3 separate regions of the Homo sapiens genome follow, and regions 1 and 2 are each linked to region 3. Evidence: promoter capture Hi-C in 16 types of primary human blood cells and fetal thymus (Javierre and others, 2016). All regions are on one chromosome and are shown on one strand. The core of a region is centred on a gene start or on the middle of the fragment in contact, and the rest is flanking DNA. Distances in the headings are between cores, read along the strand shown.

Region 1 (3,596 bases), core at 549-3,048, 1.9 Mb after region 3:
AGAATTTGGATGAGCACGCTAGAAAAAGCTTGTATCACTGTGAATGGAGCATTAAGGCTGATTCTGGTGAGGGTTTAGTAAAACAAAAAGCTAGAGAAAGTCTGAAACTCCTTAGAGATCATTTAAGTGGTCATGATCAGAATGCTGATAGAAATATGAATAGAAAAGACCATTCCGATGAGGTCCCAGATGGAAATGAGGAACAAGGTATTGGAAACTGGAGTAAAGGCCATCGCTGCTATAAACTGGCTAAGACCTTGGCTAAATTCTGTCCATGTCCTAGGACTTTATGAAATGCAGAACTTAACAGTGATAAACTAGGATATCTGGTGGAAGGAATATCTAAGCAGCAAAGTATTTAGGCTACTAAATGGCTTCTTTTAACTACTTATAGTAAGATATAAGAAAAAACAGAATAGAAAAACATTAGAAAATTTGAAGCCTGGCCACCTTAACAGTGAAAGGGGTGTTTGGGTATGGTCAAGAGATTGCTAAAGAGGTCACCATGGATAGAATGAAGCCAAAGGCTATCCATGACAATGAAATTAAAAACCCCAGAGGCATTTCTGGGATCTTTGAGGCTGCCCCTTCCTCATAGGCCCTGAGCTCTAAGAGGGCAGAATAATTCCGGGGATGGACTGCTGCCCAGGGCTGCTTTGGGTCTCTACTCCCTGCGTTCCAGCACACTGCTCCTCAGCGCCCCCAGCTGTGGTTCAAGCAGCCACAGGTGCAGATTAACCTGCAGCTCTAGGATGTACAAGTGGTAAACCATGGCAGTATCCATGTGGTACTAATTCTGCAGGTGCATAGAATGCAAGAGCTGTGGAGGCCTGGCAGCCTCCACCTAGATTTTGAAGAATGTGTTGGACTGTCTGAGGGTAGAGCTACTGCAGAGAGCTTCCACTAGGGCAATACGAAGTGGAACAGTGGAACTGGGGTTGTTGCATAGAGCCCCCCTAAGGGCAATGCCTAATGCAGCTGTAAGAGCCAGACTGCCACCAGGACCCCAGAACAGTAGAGCCACCAGCAGCATGCAATACCTGCCTGGGAAAGCTGAGGGCACCAGGGTGCCTTGAGGCCTCCTGAAATACCCCATCCCCCAATGTGCACAAGATGCTGTACATGGAATCAAGAAAGATTATTCTCCAGCCTTAAAATTTAAGTCTTCTCTGCTGAGTTTTTGACTTGCTTGGGCCTGTTACTTCTTTCTTCTGGCCTGTTTGTCTCTTTTGGAAAGGGAGTGTATACCTTATACCTGTCCCACCATTGTATCTAGGAAGTAGATAACTTGTTTTGATTTCACAAACTCCCAGATGACACTTTAGACTTTTGAGTTGGTGCTGGAACAAATTCAGTCTTTTGGGACTACTAGGATGGAATGACTGTATTTTGAATTGTGAGAAGGCCATGAATTCTGGGGGTCAGGGACAGAATGCTGTGGTTTGAACATAGGTTGTCCCCCAAAAGTCATGTGTCGAGAGGTGGGACCTTTGAGAAGTGATTGGCAGTGCCCTCATGAATGGATGAATCTATCATGGGTTAATAGATTAATGGATTATGGAATTATCAAGGATTAGTTATCATGAGGGTGGGTCTGTAATAAGCACTAGTTTGGCCATCTCTCATGACCCCCTTTGCCACGTGATACCCTGTACTACCTTGGGATTCTGCAAAGAGTCTCAACCAGCAAGAAGGGCCCCCTTCGATGGGGCCTCTTGACCTTGGACTTACCTGTCTCTAGAACTATAAAAAATAATTTTCTTTGTTTTAAATTACCGAGTCTCAGGTACAGTTCTAGCAACAGAAAACAGACTAAGACAGATGCTGATGTCCCTGGTCCTAGGCTACACTTTGAGAACCACTGCCAAGTAATGCTGCCTCTCTGTAAACCTGCTTTTAATGATGGGAGCCTACTGACAGACCATGTTTTGCACATAAGCTCACTTTTGTTTTATATAATTTTAACATATACTGAATTTTTGGGAATGCAACCTCTTGATAAACCTTCAACAGAAAATTCTACTTTGTTCTCCTGGGAATTTGACCAAGAATTGTCCAACATCAACAACTTTGGTATGGTGTTTGAGTGATTAATTGATAAGGTATTTGAGTTATAACTCATCAGAAATCATTTGTGCTCTCAGAAAAAAGTTCCTATCACATTTACCACGATTCTACAATTTTACATAGAAGTGAAACCACCTTTGCAAAAATTACAACTGTGAAAGAAATCAGACCTAATCGACTCCATCTTGCTTCTAATCTTTAAGCTGTCCTTTTTCATTCCTGGGCATAGGTGGAACAAACTTTGGGAAGTAATTCAGTTCATGGTTTGACTCTGAAACAAAATTGATAATAGCCCTTTCCCAAAAAGACTCCCTTCTTGCCTGGGGACCAGTCTGCCTTCGCAGGACTAACAAATTAGCTACAAGATTAGAAATTACAGTTTAGGGGTCATGTGGCCTCTGGCTCCAAGAGTCTGCACCCTCCCACCCTCCAAGTTGCTTCTGGGGATAACATCTCTATTGTAAAATCTAAGATCAGTGCTTGAGATATTTTACAGACCCTGCACTCCATAGATCAGCTGACACCACTGAGACCAGCAATCTGGCTCAACCATATCTGCCATCCCACCCAGGAACAGAAGATAGCAAGAAAAACTCACTTAGACCCCCTATGATTCCATCTCCAACCTAACCAATCAGCACTCCCCACTTCCCAAGCCCCTACCCACCAAATTATCTTTGAAAACTCTGATCCCTGAATGCTCGGGGAGACTGATTTGAGTGATAATAAAACTCCCGTCTCCCCCACAGCCGGCTCTGTATGAATTACTCTTCCTCCATTGCAATTCCCCTGTCTTGATAAATTGGCTCTGTCTAGGCAGCAGGCCAGGTGAATCCATTGGGTGGTTACAGAAGTGTGAAGAGCAAGTATCTGAGTGCCTCATTATGTTTTCCAACACAGTCATACTTGAACATTTTACATGATGGGATATAACTTATTATACTAGAAATATATTTAAAATATCTGATTTCTTCTTTATATTACATTTGGCATTACATTTCTTTTTATTAAGTGTGTAAGCAGTTTATATATTAATTTCATTTCAGAAAGTAAAGGATTTGGGGTCTGATCAGTTTGAGAATCAATTTTTTGTGTGTGCGTGGAATGGAGAGTTAGTAGTTATTTTTGAGAGAGAACAGTATGGGAATTATTAGATTAGTAGAAATAAACTAAACTGAAAATCAATGTGCCTGAGGTTCATTCTTAAATCTTACTAAGTGGCAATATGACATTCAGCAAGTGATTTAACTCTCTGAATCTCCATTTCCCAATTTTAAAATGAATCCATTAGACTAAGAGGTCCACAAGATCTTTTTCTATTATTCAATCATTGAATAAAGACTGTTTTAAACTTTCTTTACAATTAAGTGTGTTGCTTTGATTACATTCATCAAAGAAATTTCCACCTAAACTGGCTCTTCAATATTGATGACCTAATACAAATTTAATGTTTTAACAATCAGTAACACACCTTCCTAGAGATTCAGGAAGGGAAGCTTAATCTGTCAGGGTATCTTTAAATAAATAGT
Region 2 (3,566 bases), core at 686-3,185, 1.9 Mb after region 3:
TTTAACTTGTGTTATACTGCAGTGAATGTCTTCCTGTGTGTAGCATTTTGTTTGTGTATGTGTGTCAATATCTATAAAGTAGCTCTTAAGAACTCTGGAAACATTGTCAGACTGCTTCCTCAAACAGCAGAGGTGGGAGGGAGCATCGGCCTAACCCTACCTGGCCTGCCTTACCAGCATGCAACCAAGGAGAAGAGAATAGGATCAAGAGCCAGTGCCAGAGAGAAGTACATAATACAACTTTATGGAGTTTAGGTTGCATCCTATAAAGTTACCATGTTACACTGTTTCGATCTACCAAAGTAGAAGTTTTACATAGTTTAGTATGAAGTTAATTTTATTAACCTTTTCACACAACACACCCTCTCATATTGCTGCCCAACAATGTCCTGGGTCTTTGTTTCCATGGTCATCATATTGAGTAGGGTTTTAGCAGGGACTTGAGTAGTTGGGAACTGAACTCATGCTAGTGAAGCCATTCTTCACTAGAAGCAGACATATGGGATCCAGAATATCATGAACAACCAGCTGGGTACAGTGGCTCACACCTGTAATCCCAGCACTTTGGGAGGCTGAAGGAAGCAGATCACCTCAGGTCAGGAGTTTGAGACCAGCCTGGCCAACATGGTGAAACCCTATCTCTACTAAAAATACAAAAATTAGCCAGGCCTGGTAGCACATGCCTGTAGTCGCAGCTACTTGGGAGGCTGAGGCAGGAGAATCGCTTGAACCTGGGAGGCGGAGGTTGCAGTGAGCCGACATCTCGCCAGTGTACTCCAGCCTGGGCAACAGAGTGAGACTCTGTCTGAAAAAAAGAGAATATCATGAATATCACCAAAGATAAAAGCAAGATGCGGATATGAGTAGCCCAGAGTAACTTTTCCTGTGCTATATAACACAGTGAGTGGTGATTCCCACAATTCAAGTCCAGTTTTTCTGGATTCTAAAGCCATACATTTTTAACTCTCCCCCTAAATATGATTTGAATTCAGAGAGTCAGATGCAATAAGGTAATTTTAACTTTAAGTGTAGTTTAGCCCACACATTTCTCTAAACTGGGGGTTGGCAAACTACAAACCTCTTTTTGTAAGTAAAGTTTTATTGGAACACAGCCTAGCTCATTCATTTATGTATTCCCTTTGCACCTTTTAGGTTGAGTAGTTGTGACTGAGGTCTTCCAGCCTTCAAGCCTAAAATATTTACTATCTAGTCCTTCAAAAAGAAGTTTGCCAACCTCTGCAAACAAGTGAAATAATGTGTATTAGAGTAGAGCAGGAGTCCACAAACTACAACCTCTGGAGCCAAAACCACCCTACTGTCTGTTTTTGTAAACAGAAATTTTATAGAAACATAGTTGACCCCTGTGCCAATTTGTTTGAGTCTTGCTTTTGATGGCTTTTGTGCTACAAGGGCAGAGTTGAACAGTTGCAAGAGAACTAAGTGGCCTGCAAAGCCTAGTGGTCTTTGCTGTCTGGCCATTATAGGAAGTGTTTACCAAACCCTGCATTTGATCATGGAATCCCAGAATGTTTATACCTTTGAGGATTTTTTTTTCTACTTTCCATATTTTACAGGCAACAGAACTAAAGCCTCGTAAAATCTTGCCCAAGGTTCTACAAATAGTCTTTTCTATTAAATTAAGTCAGAGCCTGAAATTGTCTGTGCCCAAGTCTCTCCTCAGAAATTTAGCACAGCATTTTCCCTTTCTGTCTCCCACATGCTACACAGTCATCCTGGATCATGTGCCCCGCCTCCATGAGGAGATGTTCTAACATGAGGGTGACTAGGCTCTGGAGCCAGAGCATCTTAGTTCAAATCCTGGATCTGTTAAAAATAATAGTTATTTTTCAGTTCTAACACTGAAATAAGACAAAAGGCCATATTACTGAAATAAAGTGTAAAGAATATATTTAATACTCAGGTTACTTTAGCCCCCTCATGATCAGAATATGCTAATAAATTGAGAGATTGACAGAAAAAAAGGATTCTGTTTCACTGTGGCTCACACCTGTAATCCCATCACTTTGGGAGGCCGAGGTGGGTGGATCACTTGTCTGGAGTTCAAGACCAGCCTGGCCAACATGGCAAAACCCCGTCTCTACTAAACAATACAAAAATTAGCCAGGCGTGGTGGTAAGCACCTTTAATCCCAGCTACTCGGGAGGTTGAGGCAAGAGAATCGCTTGAACCTGGGAGGTGCAAGTTGCAGTGAGCCAAGATCACACCACTGCACTCCAGCCTGGGCAACACAGCAAGACTCCATCCCTGGAAAAAAAAAGTTCATCATTTGTTCTTGTAGTTTCCTAGTGTGGCCCTTGTCTCAGTGGAAAATTGTAGTGTGATAGACTGAGGAGAATTCTGTTTCTGCCACTTCGCCTGTTGCCTTGGTAGGAGCTCCTTATCTCTGAGCTGAGCTCCTTTTGTCCTTGGTAAAATGTGGTTATTATCATCTGCATCCTCATAGTCTTCTTGTAAGGACTGTGAAGTCACTTTTGAAAAATGCCTTGAATATGCCAGATGGTCTGTTTTCTTTCTTTTTTGTTTTGTTTTGTTTTGTTTTCCCTTGGCCTTCATTCCTGGAAGTGTTTTGTTATATACATTTTGTTTGGTGGCCAACAGTGCTAACCACAGAAAAGTTTGTATGTCTTCTTTTTCTAGAATAATTCTTACAGTGTAACCTCTCAGGGTGAAGTTTTTGTTTTGAAAGGGGCACATTTACTGTGAATGAGAGCCATGGAAATGGACCTGAAATTTGAAGACAGATTTTACTTGGTTTTCTTTTCTCTTATTTGTTTGCAGTATAAAGAAGAGGGCAGCAAGGTGACCACTTACTGCAACGAGACAATGACTGGGTGGGTGCATGATGTGTTGGGCCGGAACTGGGCTTGTTTCACCGGAAAGAAGGTGGGAACTGCCTCTGAGAATGTGTATGTCAACATAGCACACCTTAAGAATTCTCAGGAAAAGTGAGTTGCTACAAATGAGACATACGTTTAGTTTTGTTTTATAGTATATATGAATATGTGTGTACATTTTTGGAATTTTAGTTTGATTATACAAAATATCTTTGGCTTAGAAATATTAGGCATGCTATGTAAAACCTTACTGGAAAAATAAATTGACCAACATTATTGAGAGTATTTTTTCAAAGTGTTCCAAAAGTAATGGACCAATGATTACTTTAAATGAAATCATGTAATGGACCACAGAATTGCAAATTACTAATAAAGAAAAGCCATTTTGCTTATTGCCATGTAATAACATGTTGCATGATACAAGTAGATACGTATGTTTATGCTGCAACAAGTATAGGTGATACTAATTGGGCAACTTTTAAACAAGACCATAAATAACTGAAATCAAAGTTCTTAGTATTTATGCAGCCTGTTGGTTTGCGAGGGCTGCCATAACAAAGTACCACAGACTGGGTGGCTTAAGGAAGGTTGTTTTTTCACAGTTTTGGAGGCTAGAAGTCCAAGATTGAGGTGTTGTCAGGTTTGGTTTCTTCCAAGGCCACACTCCTTGGCTTGCAGATGTCTGCTTGCTTACTGGGCTCCTAAACAGTC
Region 3 (3,313 bases), core at 618-3,117:
GGATTGAAACAGGCTGTTGCTGTAACACTGTTTTTCTTAATCATAAGAATGATTTAATTTTATAGTTTCTCAAAATACCCAAGGGAGGAACATAAACTCCTATATATAACACGACTCTTTTTAAACATATATATCTATAAATGCTTGGGGTGTCAGGAAACACTGAAAATAAATTTACCAAAGAGTTATTTTAGCCATTCAGTACTTATTGCTGGGTGGTGGAATTATTGTTGACTTTGTTCTTAGTATACTTCTGCGTTTTCCAAATTATCTACCATAAGCAATTATATTCTGATTGTAAAATGCTACAGATGAAAAACTAGAAATAAACATTAAAATTATTTAAAAGGTTTAGTTCACTAACAATCCTGGTAATGTTGCATTGATACTAGGATACTCAAGACAACAGATTTGGTCACAACTAAAACTTTTTAGAGCTCTCCACTTACTCATTTCCAATTGTGTATGATCAATTTCTACGGTCTATTACATTCACAGCCGGTGCAATTGTAAATTGGTACCACCTTTCGGAAAGCAATTGGCTCTATATATCTTTAAAATCTTAAAGTTATTTAAAAAGCCTTATGCCCTTTACCCCAGAACTGTCGCTTTCCAAAAATTTTCCTAAAGGGGGAAATTCGAAATAAGAAAAACAATACACAGGTTGAGCACTGTAACTTATATATAATAAAGTTGGGGAAATTAGAGAAAGGTTAAATTACAGTGCATTTATTCAACAGAATACTCCGTCATTTGTAACAATGACTATGAAACAAAATAGAAAAATACTCACGTTAGGTTAAATGAAGAAAACATACCTATCTATGGTGGATCACAATATGAAAATTTAATACTTCTAGGTAGAAGAAGAGAAAGAGAATATGAAAAACTAAAAAGTCTTTAGGGGTAGGAGGACGTGAGCAGATCTCTAAATAACCTTGAGATCAATGGAAACAGTGTATAGATTTTTAGGTTCACTTATAAGCTGCTGATCTTATTTTAAGATCCTTCAGTATATGTTATCAAAAAGTGTTTGCTTTTCTTGCAAACGCCCATGTTTGGGAAATATGCAAGTTGAAGCCAATGCATTACTGTACTTTTTATAATGCACCTGAAGTTTTACTAGCTGTTCCAAGAGTGGTGTACTGAGTATTGATAAATCGTTTAAGTGGAGGCTCACATGAAATATTAACTATTACCCCAGGGCTTTAGAGCAACTGTGATCAATTCTGGCACAGCATCAGATCCATAATTTTCTTTGCTACTCTGATTTCTACGTTTTTTGTATTTTCAAAGTAATGTGACCGCAACTGTTAAGTTATTAAAATTGCTCCTGAGATGAGGGCACTCGAGACACAAACACACGGAGAGGTTCGTCCGCTATTCCTCTCATTTACTAAGCTCACACGTCTACCCTGAGGATTTGGAAACACTGTATGATTCTGCACTTACTGTGCACTTATCCCTTAGTGCTAAGGGGTAAACAGATACCCACCGGGCTGTCTAAGGCGCAGCCTCAAGGCAAGGAAGAAGGGTGCTGGGTCGCAGGGGATGAGAGGGCGGGGCGGCCACTTTGCTGCAGGAGATACCCAAAGCCAGTTAGCACTGAGGAAGTCAGAAGAGAATTGTCAGTCTCTCGGACACCTTCATTTTCTGCCCCGGAAATTTCTCCTCCGCTGTTGTCTGGGCTCCACTTCCGACCCCCAGTTGCTACCAGCTGTAGTCCGACCTATCGTGGCCCGGGCTAGTGCCAGCCTCCCGCCGCTACCTCCGCCTCGTCCCTTCTCCTCTGCGCCTGCGCGACCGGAAAATTCGCGAAGGTTCCTGAAACGCAACGGATCGTTTCCGGAAGCCGGTAGCCGCCTCAGTCGTCAGACCGGTGCTAGCGACACGGGAGTGGCAAACGCATCCTCTTGCCGTTCCCGGTGTTTGGGCCTTGCCTGTGACGGTGGGAAAAGAAAATGGCCTTGCTGTGCTACAACCGGGGCTGCGGTCAGCGCTTCGATCCTGAGACCAATTCCGACGGTAAGAGGAACGCGCCGCCAGCCCTCCCTCCCCTCCACCTCATCAGCAGGGGAGGCCCTTTGGGCCGGAGGGTGTCCGCGGATCTCCTGCAGCCGTCCTCGCGCGGCCCCAGGTCCATGCCCCTCCTGGGCCTCCCTTGGCTGCCCGCGCAGCCCGCCGGCCGCCCCTCTGTTGCGCCGCGTTCCCTTGGCGAGCGCCCGGCCCCGGCGCCTGACTGTCCTCTGCCACTGCGGAGAGAGACGCTCCCATGGATCCACGTGTTTCCCCCGTCGTCCCCGCACTCCTTTTAAGTCGCCTGGAATTTAGAACGAACACGTTTCTCCTCTGGCCCTCCAGTCTCTGGGGAAGCAAAAATTAACGAGGTACTGGTGAGCTTGCTTTGTAGTTCCCGAAGTAGTGATGGCTGTGATTGCCTGCGCGAGAGGGAGAGGTGGCCGGGATGAGCAGCGGGTTGTCCTAGCATGTAAGCTCTGCCTTGTAGAAGTTTGTGTTCAGTCGATCCGCTGTTACAAACCTCTTACAAGTGTTCTTGGTAAGGGACATTACTCTGTATCTTCACGCTGTTTTGATAGGTTCATCCTGGTGGTACGTTAGTTATCTTTTTATTACTAGCGGCATTTGTTGCTTGTTCTTCTTGTGGCCTCCACGTTTTACTACCATGCCTACTCCCGTATAAAATGAGTGAATGTCATCTACAGCACCTAGATGTCGAGTTAAGGATCCAAAGCGAAAATGACTATTAGGTGAAGGACGGGAAATGATCAGTGAATTGAAATTTTGATTGACAAAGAAGTGAGATGATTCCTTGCGTATCGTGAGAAGTGACAACACGTTTTCAGATTGAACTAGCATTTAGTTTATATTTTCTGCATGCCAGCCATTATTGCTTTATCTTATTTAATCTTCATAACCACCCTGGGACGCATGTAATGTTAATTAGACCCATTTGATAGAGAAGCTCAGTTCAATGAGGTTGTATTAATAACATCCTTCATTATTGTGGAGGAGATGAAAACTGATGCCTTTTGAACTCTTCACCTCTGAGATGTTTGAAATACTTATTTTTGGCACACAGGTAAATTGATAGCGTTATTTAAAATAAGACCATTGATACAGAGTTTTAAGGAAAAGGAAAATCCAACCTATGCAATACTCAAGTTACCGCCACTGACATTTTTATGATGCAAATATGATGCTACTCATGAGGAAAATTGTGAGATTTCAGTCGATGACAAAATCGAGAAACGATTTTAAAGCCCTTTGGTGTTGGCAGCCTATGTAAAACATT

What was found. The method cuts DNA at HindIII sites, captures the fragments that hold promoters and counts their contacts. A CHiCAGO score of 5 or more calls a contact.
Region 1: a contact is called between a fragment that was not itself captured here and the fragment with the promoter of CHORDC1 in region 3, in 1 of 17 cell types (naive CD8 T cells). The highest score is 5.3, in naive CD8 T cells.
Region 2: a contact is called between a fragment that was not itself captured here and the fragment with the promoter of CHORDC1 in region 3, in 1 of 17 cell types (naive CD8 T cells). The highest score is 5.6, in naive CD8 T cells.

The regions. Positions count from the first base shown.
Region 1 is chr11:88,339,202-88,342,797 of GRCh38, reverse strand. The region is part of intron 1 of LOC101929174 (a long non-coding RNA gene); the gene reads right to left. Among named protein-coding and RNA genes, the nearest start is that of CTSC, 3.3 kb to the right of the region's middle. The HindIII fragment of the contact is 3,535 bases long and covers 31-3,565 here.
Region 2 is chr11:88,311,788-88,315,353 of GRCh38, reverse strand. CTSC (cathepsin C) reads left to right here. Exons shown (of 7, transcript NM_001814.6): 3 at 2,800-2,966. Among named protein-coding and RNA genes, the nearest start is that of CTSC, 24 kb to the left of the region's middle. RefSeq lists a silencer at 2,266-2,466. The HindIII fragment of the contact is 7,019 bases long and covers 1-3,566 here.
Region 3 is chr11:90,221,603-90,224,915 of GRCh38, reverse strand. CHORDC1 (cysteine and histidine rich domain containing 1) reads left to right here and starts at 1,867. Exons shown (of 11, transcript NM_012124.3): 1 at 1,867-2,025. The coding sequence starts at 1,962. It overlaps LOC124902812 (a long non-coding RNA gene), which reads right to left and starts at 1,757. Exons shown (of 2, transcript XR_007062978.1): 1 at 1,496-1,757. The HindIII fragment of the contact is 11,072 bases long and covers 1-3,313 here.